Linked DNA regions of Homo sapiens: region 1 is linked to region 2. The links are contacts of gene promoters, found by promoter capture Hi-C in blood cells and fetal thymus (Javierre and others, 2016). All regions are on one chromosome and are shown on one strand. Each heading gives the region's core, a stretch centred on a gene start or on the middle of the fragment in contact. The rest is flanking DNA. Distances are from core to core; before and after follow the strand shown. Region 1 overlaps ITGAV (integrin subunit alpha V). Region 2 holds the start of ZC3H15 (zinc finger CCCH-type containing 15).

The links. Contacts are between HindIII fragments. The CHiCAGO score rates a contact against its expected background, and 5 or more counts as called.
Region 1: a fragment that was not itself captured here is called in contact with the fragment with the promoter of ZC3H15 in region 2 in 1 of 17 cell types (M1 macrophages); the score reaches 6.5 in M1 macrophages.

What each region holds. Positions count from the first base shown.
Region 1 is chr2:186,664,379-186,667,464 of GRCh38, reverse strand. ITGAV (integrin subunit alpha V) reads right to left here. Exons shown (of 30, transcript NM_002210.5): 20 at 2,824-2,971; 21 at 2,247-2,339; 22 at 682-761; 23 at 235-315. Among named protein-coding and RNA genes, the nearest start is that of FAM171B, 28 kb to the left of the region's middle. The HindIII fragment of the contact is 2,313 bases long and covers 425-2,737 here.
Region 2 is chr2:186,484,834-186,487,910 of GRCh38, reverse strand. It overlaps ZC3H15 (zinc finger CCCH-type containing 15), which reads right to left and starts at 1,651. Exons shown (of 10, transcript NM_018471.3): 1 at 1,454-1,651. The coding sequence starts at 1,528. LOC105373785 (a long non-coding RNA gene) reads left to right here and starts at 1,911. Exons shown (of 2, transcript XR_001739147.3): 1 at 1,911-2,111. RefSeq lists an enhancer at 1,542-2,021. The HindIII fragment of the contact is 12,604 bases long and covers 1-3,077 here.

The sequences.
Region 1 (3,086 bases), core at 332-2,831, 180 kb before region 2:
AAAGTTCAACAAAATTATTTTGTGCATGTTGTTGCCATGTCTTGTTCCTTTTGAGGATCACCCAGTATTGGGGGTTTGGAACATACCTAGGATTTTATTTCTACAGAAGCTAATGCCCTAGTAAAACCACCACTAAACATGCAGGGTCTATTGTCCAGAAAAGGCTAAGGCCTGACAGTTACCTTTAAAAAGCAATCATGAGAATGAGATACTCAACTAAGTATTCATACTGACCCTCTTATCTCAACTGCAGCTAAAACAGCAAGATCAACTTTGTGAGATACAACTGGGCTTACTTTGTCAAATAGATTTGAGCTGAAAAAGAAAAAAAAAAACTTAAAAATGAATTATGCATAACAACCAAGAACATACAGAGGCAAACCCAGTGAAACTAAAAATTAACAAACGAAACAAGTGTAAAGCTTATACCTCAAAATAGTTATTTTCATTAACACTTAATTCCAAGAAGATGAACATTTTCTTTCTGGATTTTAAATTTTGTTTTACAAACTCAAATCTGACAATAAAATTATTCTTATAATGTAAATATTGATTTTAAAATGCTATAGTCAAGCAATAAAATTTAATCTGCTACTTTATATTTAAAGTATATTACATAGTATATTTACAACAAATAATATTTATTTGATAGTTATAAGTGAATATAAGTTGTTTTCATACCTTTGGATTTGTAAGTCAAATTTCACAGAAGTATCCATCTCTGACTGCTGGTGCACACTGAAACGAAGACCAGCTAAGAGCTAAAGGAGAGAGGAAAAGATAGTAATGCTAGTCAATGTCTAATTAGCAAAATTTCAAATCCAATGTCTAAATAAAAAATAATGTTCTAAAATGGGGTTTTTCTGAGCTTACAATAAAACTGAACAAAGATAACTAAATCTTATTTTCTATCAAACCTATTTTACTTAATATACCTGGACCAATCCATAAGAGAGCCTATTTAACAACAATTATTAATCATAATTATACCTCCTTATAATACTAACCATCTTTCTAAAAAGTGCAAAAGTAAATGTTTGTTGATCCAGTGAAAGTCTAGCAACTGGGTACAATAATTTGATAACACGAAGCTAACCACCAAAGTATGTGCTGTGTTCATAGGCCAGGAAAGAAGAAATGGATGGTTTACTAGAGTAAGGGAACATGGCTAAAGAAGGCATGAGTAGGGCCACAACCAGAATTTCTCCACACACCTCTCATAACACTCCCAACACCAAATATCCTAATTCCTGCAGGCAGAAAATTGGTAGATTTTAAATAAAACAATTGAACCACCAGGTACAAAAAAGAAGGCTTCTTGGGGATCACACAAATGACATATAAAAACAGTACTTCCTGGGTTCTGCCTCCCACTCCACAAAACCTGGAGCTGGCTACTTGTAATAAGCAGAAACTATATAATAACCAGAAAGTTAGAGAGAATGAGAATATGAGAAAATAAAAGGCATGCTCATTGTTAATAAAACATTGAATACACGTGAAAAACTGAACTTAGGGTAATTTGTTCAAGTTCTCATCCCTAAGATACCATACATCTAGAAATACTAATGACTTGTAATAGAAAACATACTAAAGAAATATGGAATATTTAGACCTGTATTACCACAGATCTTCAAAGTACCAGTATCAATAAGTCATTAAATAAATTCTATTGAAAAAGTCACACAGCATATGCTGCCATTTTGTCCTTGCTACTAGAAATTCTACAAGGTATATTTTGTTTACTTTTTAGAGGATTCGGAAAGCAAGCCATTGGCTGCTTCTTTTCAAGCTCCTGGGCACCCTGCTCCACCATCTGAAGGGGAGCCTGATTTAACTGACCTTCACTTTGATCCTCTGTGTGGGGCCTGTGATGGAATCTAGCTCACCTAGGATTGACAGTCTTGGTAGTTGCCAGAGTAGCTTTTCAGGATCCATTAAGGCATCAGTGTAAAATAGCAAAAATTATTATTTCAGTCCTTAGTTTAAACCACGTTCTCATCCATTCACTAAAGTGAAGGAGGCATAAAGAGCAGCTGATTGCAAACCGTGTAGGAGCACAACCAATTGTTTTCGTATCTTAGTTAAAACTAAGCAAAACTCTGCTAATCATTTAACTATTATATCGAAACCAATTTAAGGACATTGTTTTGAAGTGTTTATTTTTAAAAATTACTATGAGCCCAGACAACAATATGCTTTTCTATTTGCCAGGGAGAAAAATCCGTTTAATTAAATTGTCTTACTTGAGTTCCAGCCTTCATTGGGTTTCCAAGGTCACATACCACCTGGCGAGTTTGGTTTTCTGTCTTAAATGCACAGGAAAGTCTTGCTAAGGCCTTTGATAGACCAAAAAAAAAAAAAAAAATGGATATGAAAGGAAATAAAGTATCACGCAGTTGGATATTTCAGTTTCTTGTCCTAAGCAAATAAATCTAGTTGAGCAAACCAGGAGGTAAGGAAAAAGCCAGAATTGGGTACAATTGCCACATGGAAATGCAGAAGTGTTTCTGAAAGATCCCTAGAGGACTACCATACAAAACCATACAGCCTCTGACAAATAATTTGATGGACAGGCTTAGACACTTTATCTATCTAACCTTGTTTCCAGGCACTTAGCTTGCAATTCTAAAAATGTCATATCAATGCATTATGCAAAGTATTAGGCTTAAAAGGAATTATGTAAGATAGGCACTCCATTGTCTATCAATTTAGCCTTAGGTAGAATAGCTAAGCTTGTGCTTCACTAAATAGGGGAACAGCTCATTAATGTTAATAAGATCCGTGAGTGCATTTCAATTTTTAAAGAGGCAGCCTGCTTACTTCATTGTTTCGGACAACCCCGATGAAATCAGCCTGCAGTGGAATGGAAACGATGAGCTCAGCTTCGTAGGCACCTTCTCCTTGATTCTGAGCCTTAACAATCAATGTCAGAGGGTTGTCATCCCCAATATAGATCTTCTTTTGATCACTACAAGTTAACAATACAAATCCAGACTGAGAAAAAAAGACTACATGGGGAAAGTATGACTGTTCAAAGAAAGAAGAGATAAATACACAGCACTGACATGTTCAACAGTGTCTCA
Region 2 (3,077 bases), core at 402-2,901:
AAAATAAGAATACTAGTCCTACTAATTAAAAATAAAACAATTAGATATAGAGAAAGCTCTACAATGCATGAAGTATAATTTAAATTGTCTAAATTATTACATAACATTTAATTTCAATGGGAGTTTTACTTCGTATCAGGGTCCAATCTCGAGGAAAACGACATCCCTAAAATGTCCTTGGTTTTCATAAAAGTGAATGCCATCCGATCAGCAACCCCTGAAATTTACCTAAGTGCCACGAATCCAGATTGTTCAAATAAGGTAATAGAAAACACAGATGTGAAGGTAATATTTTGTTTTTAAGTGTCTGGCTATAGTACTTCATGACAGTTTTAAACTGTACAAATTGGCAATAAGAATACCAGTTCTCCTCCAAAGTTGGAACCTGGCCAAGTATAGCAAAATTCTTAAGCATTTTCTTAAATCCAATGAGCAGACTTTACACCTTATGCGGTAAAATGGTCATGGCTTTTTCTAATTATATCCAAAGTACAAGAGGTCCTATTTAATTATGAGGAGGATTAATAGCAGAAATCGAGGGAAGAAATACCTCGTTGGGGTCTGTATGGTATGTTTACGTAATGTCAAATATGGTTCATCTTTTAAGGAAACTCAATTCAGTTGTTGGAAAACAAGTGCACAACATGTAAGAACGTCAATAGCGTTCCTTGGCCATTAAAGGGCTACAGGCTCAATGTGTTAAACGAATATATATACACACACATATATACACATATACACACACATAGATGTATACATATATACACGCGCACACACACACATATATCTCAAACTGGGTTACGGGACTTCACACAATTAGTGACACTGAAACCTAATCTCTTTTAAGGCGTTATCCTATTTAATCCACTTCAGAATGTAAGTACCAAGCTCTGCGTTCAAGACCCTGGGTTGTGACGGAAAGTCCTTCCATTCTTTATGGGACTTTAAACATTTCAGAGGTGGATCGAAAAAGCCACCAAGTCGTAATTTGTTGGTTCAAAAGAACTAACAGTACCATCCCTGGGTGACGGGTAAAGAAATAACGAACACAAAGACTCGTCATGAGTCGGTCTTCCAGAAAGACGCTGGCCCGAGACCGTTCAGCGTATTTCTTCACACATAACCTTGGAAAATCTCCTCAATTCTGAGAGGACTAGCGAAGGATAAAACCCTGTGCCAGTCCCGAGGGGTCATTTCGCACCCGGGTGCATGGGTGGGTGAACACGGGCGTGTGGGCGGAGAGGCAAAGCCCAGGTGCGGGGGCGCCAGCAGCGTCACTATAGTAATGAGAGAGCTAGCGTCATCAGGGGCTGGAGAAGGGGCAGTGGGCCACACAGGCCTAAGGGAGGAACACGTGGCCCGAGGAAGCGAGCCGGCTCCCAGGGAAGCCCGGAGCGGGGAAGTGGCTTTCCGGAGGGCTCGCGGCGTGAGTGGGGGAGGGGTGGGTACTCACTTCGATAATCTTCTCCTTCTTTTTTTGCTCCGCCTTTTTGCTGCCCCCGGCCTGAGCCTGTTTCTTGGGGGGCATTGCGGAGACAGATGGCACCGGCCAGACTTACGCGCAGCTGAATACCGTCAGGGGTTCTGGCCCTGCGGCAGGACGAGGAGGAAGACCGGGGCCTCACTCGCCGCACCGCACGGAAAGCGAGTCGCTCATTGGCCCCGCAAACGCGGCCTTTGCGACAGGTCGATGTCGCAGAGCATAGTGGGTAGCGAGGAGCGGCTCCCGGAAGCGGAGCTGCGCGTGCGCGCCCACTGCGTCCCACTAGGAGGGGGCAGGGACGGGACGTGGGAAAATGACTACGCGTCACTCGTGATGTCGCGCATCCGATAGGCCCTTTTCAGATGGCAAAAGGCCTGAGGGTGAATCTGGGCGAGCTGGTTGAGTCCATGCGTTTGTGCTTCCTCTCAGTCCACTTTCGCTTACGATGGGGCGACTCTTGTCCATCGTCACCTCACCGGGAAACTTTTCCTGCCGGGCCAGTTAATGGTCCCCTGTACCATCCCCATCCTGAGTGACTACTAAGCAGCCGCAGCGACTCGGGGTTGCTCCGTGACCACGTTACTCAGTTAACCTTCTTGTTCCCTGGAGAGGCGGAGCTGAATGGCCCGTGAGTGTCGCGTGCTTCAGATTCCTGCGAAGGATTATTTAAAAAATGGAAAAAGTTAACTTTCATTTGCAGGGTCCCTTTCATTTGAAGAGCATCTGAGATGGCGTCCCAGATAAGGAGGCACTTGAACTCCTTAGAAGTACTGTATTAAGTTATTTTGAGACTTTAGGAGAGTGCCTAGGTGATTCCTAAAAATTCCTTTATAACGTGAAAGTAACCAAACTTAGTTAGAACTTAGTTTAAGTGCTTGGTAGCTCCAGAAATTCCTTGGCACATTACACACACTATTTCATTTAGTTATCACAACGACACTTAGGTGGGAGTTGTTACTGTTTTCGTTTTATAGATGAAGCAGAGAAAGGAAGAAAGATGCCCAAAGTTATATTAAGGACAGAGCCAGCAATTGTAATCTTGGCAGTCCGGCTTCAGCCTATATGCCTATTACCTAACATTACAAACTTAGATCCTGTTTGAAAAGGTACTTGAATGATGAATGGGACCCATTGATATTTGTACAAACGAAAATACTATTTTTTAAAAATGTACAATGCTTAGCTGTTATTTTTTAAAATGATTATTGTTTAAACTATTTCTGTTAAGAAGCATTGTGGAACCAAGAATCATCTTTATAGATAAAAGTTTTTTTATCTTTTTCATTAATTTGAATAGGGAGAAAACGATAAGCCCCCCTACTTAGTCAAATTGATTATTTGCTTAGTAATTTTCTACGTAAGATAATGTCAAGGAACCCCAAGTATGTTTTGTGTGTGTATGTGTGTGTGTAGAAGAAATGTGATAGCTACTAAAAAGAATTGTGTCGAGAATGGCAGGTGTATGTTGACACACTTTTTTTCATTTGGGCTCATATTGGCAGGTTAATGGGCTCCCCCCCTTTTACATATTTTCATCTTTATTTTTTGTAATTGTCATAGTTCTTGTCAGAGGATGGAGGGATGCAGCCAGCCC